Linked DNA regions of Homo sapiens: regions 2 and 3 are each linked to region 1. The links are contacts of gene promoters, found by promoter capture Hi-C in human tissues and cell types (Jung and others, 2019). All regions are on one chromosome and are shown on one strand. Each heading gives the region's core, a stretch centred on a gene start or on the middle of the fragment in contact. The rest is flanking DNA. Distances are from core to core; before and after follow the strand shown.

Region 1 (3,881 bases), core at 937-3,436:
TTTTTCTATTTTAATTTCTAAATGCTAAATATCAATAGCTATGACCCACATAAATAAAAGTTCTTTGGTGTCCTCACCAAATTGTAAGTGTTATGGGGGGTCCAGATACCCAAAAGTTTGATAACCTGGCAAGTCTGAGAAGACACATCTGGGTGGATGAGCAAGTGTAGGGGTGGGAGGGGTGTGACAGGAACTGATGAGGGCACTGTGTGTCTCGTGTTCGGGACAGGATTCCTTGAATGGTACTAAAAGTGGACAGGGGAGGATGCAGTCCAGTCTACTCCTTCACTCTGCTTGTGGCCTGTTCTTAACACAGCTCTCATGGAAGCGCAATTTAGAGAAAGCAATCTTAAGAAACAAGAAAGTAGAGTTTAGAATCCCAAAATTAGGAAAGACAACTGCAATTTGTTTAGTGAAAAACACTGAAGTTGCTTCTTTCCAACAAGAATGGAAAACATTTTTGGAGTGCTGGTTGCTTTTTTTACCAGATGATATAAGATTTGTTAATTATTAGATTTTTGTAATACTTATTAATACATTTTTCTCTTATCTTTTGGAATAGCATTTCCTGGTTTTAAAAAAAAAAACTTAAAAGGGGGCAAATCGGCAGGAGACTGAGGAAAAGCCTAAATGTATTCCCCAGAAAGTATGTTTTAAATTTTAACATTTACTTACTGAGAGGTGAGGCCAGCTGAACTTCCTGGGTCCAGTGGGGACTTGAGGAACTTTCCTGTCTTACAAGAGGATTGTAAAATGCACCAATCAGCGCTCTGTAAAATGCACCAATCAGCACTCTGTAAAACGCACCAATCAGCAGGATTCCAAAAGTAGCCAATCGCAGGGAGGATTGAAAGAGGGGCACTCCGATAGGACAGAAATGGAACATGGGAGGGGACCACAAGGGAATAAAAGCTGGCCACCACCAGCCAGCACCTGGGGTTCTCTTCCATGCTGTGGAAGCTGTCCTTTTGCTCTTCGCAATAAACCTTGCTACCGCTCACTCTTTGAGTCCGTGCCATCTTTAAGAGCTGTTAACAGTCACCGGGAAGGTCTGCAGCTTCATTCTTGAAGTCAGGGAGACCACGAACCCCCTGGCAGGCACCAACTCCGACACATTACTAGGCGCTAAGCATTGTGCTAGAGAGTTTGCTGTGGTATAGGGGCAACAATCTTTACTTTGGAATGAGAAAAACTGTTTCAAACAACTTACTTGCCATGAGTAATTTAATTTCTCTCTTTTCTATAAAACATGGGTAATATTTATCTCACAAGGATGTTTGGGATTAAAAAGTGACAACCTATGTCAATAGGACAGCATGATGCAGTGTAGGTCTTCAATGAATAGCATGGAGAGTGCTTGCAAAGGGCAACGATAAAATCTAATATAAATAAGACGTTGTAGACAAACGCTTTAAAAACACAGGGGGTAAGGTCTGATGTGCCAGCGTCACTACAGACGTACTTAGAAAAGTGTTCTGGGGATCTAAGTAAAGGAGGACTCCCATTTGCTGGGAGTGAGAAAAGAGCTTTAGGGAAACTGCAGCGTGATGGGCGAATCCTCCTTTCAATATATCTACCCTGAAAGTCGGCTCCAGCCCTGCCGAACATCCTGGCCCAGCTGCACCCGACCCAGCGTGAGATGTCAAATGACCTCTTGGCGCTTCCACGCCAGACTGGAGGGGCTCTGCACAAGCCTTGCCCGACTCATTCCGGGCACCTTGAGCGTGGGAGTCCACACTGCCCCTTGACCGACCAGCTGCCAGGTTGGCCGCACTAACTTGAGCCCACCCCCACTCGAAGCTCCGCGCCGACAGCAAGTGGAGACTTGGGGGTACCGGATAGAGGAAGGAACTCCCAAGTTGTCAGCTTCAGACCATCCACGCCTCCCCCAACACGGAACCACCTTCAGCCTCCCAGCTGGTATCCCACCCCCCCTCCCCCCACCCGCTGGGCCAGAGCCCAGCCCTCGGACAGCGACCGTGCTCCTCCACACACCCCGCGCTCCAGCCCCTGGGCATCCAGCAGCCGGCGTTCGCACGCTCTGTCATCGATTGGCGCTGCCTTGCTCCTTGGGCTCCCGTCGCGTGGAAATCGGCCCGAAACTTGGAAAGTCCAGCGGAGCGCGGGGAGGGAACCGAGGCAGGCGGGCCAGGGGATTGCCGATCGCACGGATGGGCGCGCGCTCAGTCTGGCGAGTGGCGGCGCCGGCTAGCCCGAGCGGCGCGAGGCCGGAGTCCGGCGTCCGCCACCCTCTCGTCTCGCGCTGGCGCGCGAGCTCCTTGCCCTTGCCCCCAGGAGGGCCGCCCCGCGTGGGGCTCTCGCACCGCCCGGGGTGGGAGCAGGCGAGCCGGAGGGAGGAGGGAGGAGGGAGCGCGCGCGGGCGGCGGCGGCCCCTCCCTTCCCCCTCCCGCAGCCGCGGAGAGCGCAGGGAGCAGCCGGTGGCTCGGCGGCGGCGGCGGCGGCGGCGGCGGCGTCGGCGTCGTCTACCTCCAGCTTCTCCTCCCTCCTCCTCCGTCTCCTCCTCTCTCTCTCCATCTGCTGTGGTTATGGCCTGTCGCTGGAGCACAAAAGAGTCTCCGCGGTGGAGGTCTGCGTTGCTCTTGCTTTTCCTCGCTGGGGTGTACGGTAAGTGTCCGCGTCCCCGCGCCCCGCTGACCGAACAAAGCTGAGGCGACCCGGGCCCCGAGGCCTCCAGGACGGGGGTTCCCCTGGAGACTCCCGCGGAGACCCTGGCTACCGGCGGGACAAAGACCGGTGAGGGGGTGGATGTGGCGGAACGGGTGTCCCCACACGGAGATGCTTTTCTCCACTCGTCCACCTCCAGACCCTCGGGTGGTGGAGAGGGGCTGGGGGGCCCGGCCGGGAGGGCCCCGGCGGAGCGAGGGGGTGGCGGGCGGACTTCCCGACCTGGGTTCGAGGGCCCCCGCGGCCAGTTGCTCCAGGACCCGTAGCCTGGCACAATCCACACACAAAGATGCTTGACTGTGAGAAAGCAGAGGAGCTCGCCCCCGCCGCTGCCGGGACGGTCCTTCCCCCCGCCCCCTCAACCCGGGGTTAGGAAGTTCTCTCACCGGCGAGATTCCCACCGCGCCAGCCCTTGTCCTACTCGATTCCCTGAAAAGGCTTCCCGCTGACTTCTCCCCACTCCACCTCGGGGGCAAGGGCTCTGCCGAATCCGGGCGTGCAGGGTCCTGTTGGTTCCCCGGGAGCAGCACGCGGGAGAAGGCCAGAAAATAGTTTCCAGCCCCACCTCAGTCTCTCCTGTTAGGGTGTACACATCTGTCCTGACTCCTAGTTCAATTGTAATTTCATCCATCCTCGTCCGCCGCTGTGGTCACTGTTACTTTATTCCAGTCGATGGATCGGGTTAGAGATAACTCCTTTCGGGTTAAGAGAAGGCTGAAGACTGTGCGGACAGCTTTATATTGCGTTGGGGTCTGAGCAAGAGCTGAATGGAATTAATTGCAAAGAACATCTATCTCTTAAGATAATTAAGTTACACTTCTGACTTCACCGTTCTTAGTTCATCAGTTAAACACACTGAATAGGTATTTCAGAGAGCTCAGTTTTAACCTTTCCTTTTTGGAGTGTTGCTCTGATTTCTCCAGAAAAAGAATTAGAAGATATCATTACTTTGGTAAATTTTACTTATAAAAAGTCTAATTCATTTGCCACAAACATTGATTTGACTAGTATAATGGTGGTGGTGGTGAGGTTTAGTCAACAGCCAATTTGTCAGCAAGTGTTATCTCTTTTGAAGGCATTTATCTACGGAATTGAATGTGATGGTGGCTTTTGAAACCTGGCAAGTGACGCTAAATGAAGAATTAATGAACGTAATTGGGCATTTACTGACAGCCAAGAAATTCTTTTTGGTACAA
Region 2 (3,881 bases), core at 486-2,985, 60 kb before region 1:
AAAGTTTCACTTCAGAAAACCATAACACTTTTTCCTTTTTGGTCATCTCAGTAAAAAGGCAAAAAAGAAAAAAGAGAAATATATAAAGAATAACTTCGTGCCATAGAAGAAGGATGGTGTTTATTTCCACTATGTTTGAAAGTTTCAAGTTTGGGGCGTATTCTAAAGAGACAGTCTAGTTCTTTCAATCATCTGCCTACATACATGATAGGTTTCATTTGATCATCTTTCATTTCTCATCAAGTTATGAAAGACAAATAGTTTGTACAGCCTTTTGACATAAACATTCTACTGAGTATAACAAAACTATATCCAGTGATGTGCCACTAAACATTTAATAACCAGTTAGGTATTGGGGGAAAATAAGTATGTACTGTGGCATTTGCCTATTCCTGTAGTGTAAATAGTACCAACATTGGGCCAGATGTGGTGTCTCATGCCTGTAATCCCAGCACTTTGGGAGGCTGAGGCAGGTGGATCGCTTGAGGTCAGGAGTTTGAGACCAGCCTGACCAACATGGTGAAACCCCGTCTCTACAAAAAAATACAAAAATTAGCTGGACATGGTGGTGCATGCCTATAATCCCAGCTACTCGAGAGGCTGAGGCAGGAGAACTGCTGGAACCCAGGAGGCAAATGTTGCAGTGAGCAGAGACCACACCACTGTACTCCAGCCTGGGCAACAGAGTGAGACTCAATCTGAAAAATAAATAAATGGCAATAAATAAATAAATACTACCAACATGGCCAATTCCAAGCTAATCATGTTTAATAACCAGCTTCCAAAATTCCTAAAAATTTAACAATTGGTTCTTACAAAACTCTATTAGCATCTCTAACATACCATTGGCTACATAATTTCACAAAAATATTTTTGTATTTTTTACATACATACACATACACACAGTTGTAGAGCATATAGAATAAGTTACCAATAGTAAAATTCACCTTCAAAATATATGCTCTGTGTACTATAATATGGAAGCAAAAAATTGTAGGTATAAAGAATGTATTCTTTCAGTTTACCGTGATGAAGTTTATTTTGTAATCGTTTGATTTCTTCATCCTATTTCCATTTAAGAGTCTGCCCCAAAGCTATTTCACAGCTTAAATCCCATCTGTTCCACTTTATTCTAAACTTTTAAGTAGTAAGATTGTAAGTGTTAAAGACCACAATAATACTTTCTTCCTAGTTACTAGGAACAACAGTAGCTTACCATTCTCCAATTTCCTCCCACTTACTGTCTGCCATAACTCATGCATTATGGAGCATATATGAGTATTTACTATGAGCCACTTACTGGGATGATAGGCTCTGGGGATTCAATAGACACAACCCCTAGCTTCAAGGAGCTCACAACCTGGAAAGGAGATGGACAAGGATAATTCCAGACAGAAAGTAACCACCTGGGGCCAAAAGAATACACAGAATGTGTGTATAACTCAGCACTCAGCCAGCATTGAAAAAGCCAACATTAATGGTTGAACTTGAAGAATGAGTAGGAATTGGCCATGAAAAGAAGGAGGGGGAAAGGCATTCCAGGGAGATGGAAGACCAAGTTCAAAATTATGCACAGGCAGCTACAGCCGTGATTGAAACAATCAAAGCACAGAGTGTAAGAGGAGGTTGGAGGAATCCTGAGGCTGCAAAGACAGGTGATGGGGCAGCTTCAGGGGCTCATAAAGATTCTGTTGTGTTATGCAAAGGAAATTGGGTTTTATACCAAAGACAATGCATCAGAAGCATTTAAGGCAAGTTGGTGAATGACAGGATTGCTGCTTTAGAAAAAGTATTCAGACACTGGATTGAAGTTGGGTGAGACAGAAGTGAGAGACCACATGTTGAACAATGAACTCAACTGAGTAATCAACTCTCCTTCCATCACAGTTTTCCCCTGAGTTCTCTATTCATCTTAATTCTCTGCAATTACCAAGTGACATCTTTTTATGTTGAAACAAAAATGGTTCCACTCTATTGTTTCCTTTGGTCCCTAAATATCTCTCTTAAGTTCACTTTCTCTAAAAATGGCACTCAACATGAGTCAGCATTTTGCATCACAAATTTAATGGAGAAAAAAGACATAGACTTAACAAAGTAAAAGGATCAAATGCCCAGAGCAAGTGTAAGTTTAACCAAGGGAATGTCATATCTATTGTGGTTATCTGTTGCTACATCACATACCACCCCAAATTTAGTGGCATAAAACTATAGCAATTGTCAGTATTATCTCTTCACAATTCAGAGGGTTGACCAGATTCAGCTACATGGTTCCAGTCTCTAGTGCCATTGAATTCAAAGGAGGATTGGTGTGGTGGCATCTCAAAGGACCTCTCACTCATATGCCTGGTGGTTGTTGCTGGTTATTTGTTGGGACCTCAGTGGGGGCTGTCTACCAGGCCTTGTTATGTGGTCTGGGCTTCCTCCAAGCAGTGCTGGGTTTCAAAGTCAGTATTCCCAGAAAAAAAGGCCTTTTCTACCCTAAACTGGTTATTCACATAGTGTCACTTCTGCCACATTCTGTTTTAGAAGTGAGTCACTATGGCCAGTCCATTCACAAAGGGAAGAGATTTAGAGTCCACTTCTTGATGGGAGATATGTCAAAGAATTTTCAGATGTCTTTTTAAAAACGATCACAATCACTTTCATGTTTTTGACCAATACAAGAGTTATCCATTTTCATTTTGGCACACCAGGCAGGAAGTGATGAAATATAACAATAACCAACAATATCCAGAATACACTGAAAAGGAGTAAAACCTCCCATATATGCTCTCTGATAAACACTCAGTTCTTAAGAGGCTGGACTGAAAAATAAATATGGAGACCAAAGCTGAGACCAGGTCATCAGGGTCCGTTTCAAAAAGCCAACATCTCAAGAGCAGTAAGAAAAGAATCTGTTCCCGTTGTATTATGGGATAAAGACTAATGCAATTTCCAAAGTGAGAAGAACCTGAAGACTGCTAGCAGAATCATTTTACTATGAGGTATATACATATGTATGGGAAGTTGTAAATAGTTGTCATTATAGACTACGGGTTGAATAATTACCAAAAAAGCATTTACACTTCCAAAAGTTGATAAAGAACATCTCTAGCTATTATGTATATAGATACCTGGATCCTAAAGTGGGCAAAACTAGGTAAAAAGCTTACCTGACAGAATTTTAACAACATTTATTTCTGTCCCAGTATGATACACTTTACACATCTACCATGTAAGATGAGATATATTTGAAATTCACACAGCTTCAGTAGGTTAGACCAATGTAATTTACAATACCTACAACACTCAACAGTTATTTTTTAAAATCCTGATTAGAAGAGAGAAACAATAAACACACTAGTTGTAAATACTTATAGAAAAGCTGAAGAGAGGCTGTTTCTTCTACCTGTTTTTAACAGTACTATTGGGACATGAGAAGAAAGCATTTTTATTCTCACACCTTTAAAGGTTGCCTAATTTCTCAGTCTATTCTTCAGCAGGGCTACTTGGGCTAACAGAATAGAATGAAAGGATAATCCCTAGATTTAGCAATACTTTGTAGCCCTATATTTATTACCTAGTAATGATCATTTTGACAGATAGTTCTCAAATTTAAAGCTCATAAGAATCATCTATGGAACTTATTAAAAACTCAGATTCCTGGGTATCATCAGGAGACTTTGATTCAGCAGCATGTTTGGGGAGAAAAGTAAAATTTATATTTGAGTATTTTCTGTGTGCCAATCACTGTTCCAGGCAGAGGGGGTGCAACTGTGAAGACACAGTCTCTGCCCTCACGGAGCTGACACTCTAGACAGTGAGGCAGACCACAAATAAATAAATGTATCGTTTCAGGCAGCGAGTGCTGTAAAAGAAAAATAAGCATTCTAATTAGGCAG
Region 3 (3,881 bases), core at 467-2,966, 35 kb after region 1:
TGTGTTGCTCTCTATCTCATTTCTTAGGTCTATTAGTAATTGTTTTGTAAATTTGAGAGCTCCAGTGTTAGGTGCATATATATTTAGGATTGTGATATTTTCCTTTGGACTAGTCCTTTTATCATTATATAATGTCCCTCTTTGTGTTTTTATTTATTTATTTCTTTTTTACTGTTGTTGCTTTCAAGTTTATGTTGTCTGATATAAGAATAGCCATTTCTGCTCACTTTTGGTCTCCATTTGCATGGAATATCTTTGTGAGTGTTTATGTTTCAGATGAGTCTCTTGCAGACAGCAGATACGTGGTTGGCGAATTCTTATCTATTCTGGCATTTTATGTCTTCTAAGTGGAGGATTTAGGCCATTTACCTTCGATGTTGGTATTGAAATGCGAGGTACTATTCTTTTCATCATGCTATTTGTTGCCTGAATACCTTGTTTGTTTTCATTGTGTTATTTTTCATTGTGTTATTTCATTGTGTTTCATTGTGATATTTCATTGTGTTTTATAGGTCCTTTGAGATGTATGGTTTAAGGAGGTTTTATTTTGGTATATTTCAAGGATTGGTTTCAAGATTTAGAGCTCCTTTTAACAGTTCTTGTAGTGTTCACTTGGTAGTGGCAAATTCTCTCAGCATTTGTTTATCTAAAAAAGGCTGTATCTTTCATTTATGAAGCTTAGTTTTGCTGGATACAGAATTCTTGGCTGATAGTTGTTTTGTTTAAGGAGGCTAAAGATAGGACCCCAATCCCTTCTAGCTTGTAAGGTTTCTGCTGAGAAATCTGCTGTTAATCTGATAGGTTTTACTTTATAGGTTACCTGATGCTTTTGCCTCACAGCCCTTAGAATTCTTTCCTTCATCTTGACTTTAGATAACCTGATGACTGTGTGCCTAGGTGATGATCTTTTTATGATGAATCACCTGAGTGTTCTTTGAGCTTTGTATTTCAACGTCTAGATCTCTAGCAAAGTCAGGGAAGTTTTCCTTGATTATTCCCTCAGATATGTTTTCCAAACTTTCAGATTTCTATTCTTCCTCAGGAACACCGATTATCCTTAGGTTTGGTCATTTAACATAATCCCAAATTTCTTGGAGTCTTTGTTCATTTTATTTTTAATTCTTTTTTCCTTGTTTATATCAGATTGGATTAATTTGAAAGCCTTGTCTTCAAGCTCTGAAGTTTTTTCTTCTACTTGTTCTGTTGTTTCAATTTTCCAATGTATTTTCCATTTCTCTAAGTGTGCCCTTCATCTCCAGAAGTTGTGATTGTTTTTTATTTATGCTATCTATTTATCTGGAGATTTTTCTGGCCATATCCTGTAACATTTAAAAAAAAAATCTTAAAGTTGGTATTCACCTTTCTCTGATGCCTCTTTGAGTAGCTTAATAATCGACCATCTGAATTCTTTTTCTGGCAAGTCAGAGATTTCTTCTTGGTTTGGATCCATTGCTGGTGAGCTAGTGTGATCTTTTGGGGGTGTTAAAGAACTTTGTTTTGTTATAGTGCCAGAATTTTTTTTCTGGTTCTTTCTAATTTGGATAGACTATGTCAGAGGGAAGATCTCGGGCTCAAGGGCTGCTGCTCAGAGTCATTTTTCCCATGGGTTGCTCCCTTGATGTGGTGTTCTCTCCCTTCCCGTAGTATTCCTGAGAGGTGAACTGCAGTGATTCTTGTTTCATTTGTGGGTCTAGCCACCCAGCAGAGCTACCAGGCTCTGGCCTGGTACTGGGGAGTGTCTGCAATAAGTCCTGAGATGTGATCCATCTTCAGGTCTCTCAGCTATGGATACCAGCATCTTTCCAGTGAACATAACATGGGAGTGAAGTGGACTCTGTGAGGGTCCTTGATTGTATTTTTGTTTAGTGCACTGGTTTTTTGTTTGTTGGCCTCCAGCCAGGAGGTGGCACTTTCAAGAGAGCATCAGCTGTGGTAGTGTAAGGAGGATACAAGCTTGCCCTAAGGTCACCTGGATAAGGTTTCTCAGGCAGTGGGTGGGACCACAGAGCTCCCAAGAGATTATGTCCTTTGTTTTTTGGCTACCAGGCAGGTAGAAAAAGATCATCAGGTGGGGGCAGGGTTAGGTGTGGCCGAGCTCAAACTCTCCTTGGGCAAGGCTTGCTGCAGCTGCTGTGGGGAATGAAGGTGTAGTTCTCAAGCCAATGGAGTTACGTACCCAGGAGGATTATGGCTGCCTCTGCTGTATCATACAGGTCGCCAGGGAAGTGGGGGAAAGCCAGCAATGACAGGCCTTACCCAGCTCCCATGCAGCCTGAAAGGCCGGTTTCACTCCCACCGTGCTTCTCCAACAGCACCAAGTTTATTTCCAGGCAGCCGGTGAGCAAGGCTGAGAACTTGGCCCAGTCTACAAACTTCCCTGCTGAGAAAGCAAGCAGGGCTTTCAGGTTTCATGCCTCTGCCCCTGCCAAGACTTCTGTGCATGTATCTGCACTCCCCATTTTCCCCCTCCCCCGGATTCTGTCCAGTAAACTTCACATTCAGTTGAAATTGTTACAAAGTTCAACTGGAAGTTTCCTTCTCCCTGTGGTTTTTTGCCAGTTTCACTGGCAGCCCTCCCCAAGGACCCCTGGAAGACAAAGTCAGAAATGGCTTCCCTGTGGACCTAGAGTGCCCACAGGGCTCTTCCCACTGCTTCCTGTACCCCTATATTTCACTCAGCTTTCTAAATTAATCTCAGCTCCAGGTAAGGTCAAGTTCTTTTCCCATGATCTGGACCAGTGAGGATGTGCATTTAGGGGCAAACGTTCCCCCCTCACACTTTGGGCACTCACAGTTTTTGGCTATCTCACAGAGCCTGCAGCAGCAAGCAGCTTCATTCAAAGGATCTGTGGATTCTCTAGGCTTTCTTGGTATGTTTCTGTGGTAGTTCTTGGAGCAAAAGTTCATGACATGGGTCTCCACACACTGCTCTGTCTGTCTGAGTGGGAGCTGCAAGTTAGTCCTGCCTCCTGTGCACCATTTTTTTTCTTACATTGGATAACTTTTATCAATTATGTGAAAAAGGATAATTCTCTGCTTCACATGTGATATTTCTGTAGAAAAATGCCAAGCTGACAGGTTAACTGGAAGATAGTACTTTAAGGTTCCATGAAAGAGTAGGTAAGCTATGAGATGACTTAAGTAGAAGTAAGTGAAAAGTTAGCTATTTGCTGAGAGAAAAAAAAAATTGTATTTTTAGTAGAGAAGGGGTTTCCCCATGTTGGTCAGGCTGGTCTCGAACTCCCAACCTCAGATGATCTGCCCGCCTCGGCCTCCCAAAGTGCTGGGATTACAGGCATGAACCACCACGCCCGGCAAAAAAAAAAAAACAACAAAAAAAAGACATATTTATACATTTATTAGATTGATGGGCTATAAGCTGTTAAGAACCCAGGAGTCACTGAAGATCAAAAATGGTAAATTTAAAAAATGCCATTTTCTTGGTATCCCCATCCCCAACAAGTTCTAAAGCTAATGCAGAGCAAAGTCCCTTACAATCTAAAGACTGAAGCTGCTCAAAATGTAAAATATTTGATAGTCATTTACCAAACATTTTGAAAGACAGTGATAATAAATTTCTCTCTAATTCAAGGGAATAGTTGGGTTTGAAATCTTCCACTTGTGGCTTTCTGACTTCGTTCACTCGTGGAAGAATGCCTAGCTTTCTCTTTATACATTCTTTATCCTTTTCCTTCTCTCCTCTTACTTACAGTATCATATGAAACCAAATTGTTAATTATGCAGAGGATGTTTCATGCCTAATTCCAAAATCTGATAATTTTTATTCATTAAAACAACAAACATTTACTGAGATCTCACTGTGTCATAAATTGGGAGATGGTTGCTGGGGAATAGCAAGGCAGGGAGAAAGAGAGTAAGAA

Evidence for each region. Contacts are between HindIII fragments. The study calls those that stand out against the background at their distance.
Region 2: a fragment that was not itself captured here is called in contact with the fragment with the promoter of LRP12 in region 1 in 2 of the 25 tissues and cell types used here (IMR-90 fibroblasts and aorta).
Region 3: a fragment that was not itself captured here is called in contact with the fragment with the promoter of LRP12 in region 1 in 2 of the 25 tissues and cell types used here (bladder and mesenchymal stem cells).

What each region holds. Positions count from the first base shown.
Region 1 is chr8:104,587,563-104,591,443 of GRCh38, reverse strand. LRP12 (LDL receptor related protein 12) reads left to right here and starts at 2,186. Exons shown (of 7, transcript NM_013437.5): 1 at 2,186-2,625. The coding sequence starts at 2,547. RefSeq lists silencers at 2,148-2,487, 2,918-3,027. The HindIII fragment of the contact is 16,882 bases long and covers 1-3,881 here.
Region 2 is chr8:104,647,243-104,651,123 of GRCh38, reverse strand. No RefSeq gene overlaps it. Among named protein-coding and RNA genes, the nearest start is that of LRP12, 60 kb to the right of the region's middle. The HindIII fragment of the contact is 5,083 bases long and covers 1-3,881 here.
Region 3 is chr8:104,551,824-104,555,704 of GRCh38, reverse strand. All of the region lies in intron 1 of LRP12 (LDL receptor related protein 12), which reads left to right. Among named protein-coding and RNA genes, the nearest start is that of LRP12, 35 kb to the left of the region's middle. The HindIII fragment of the contact is 3,481 bases long and covers 1-3,456 here.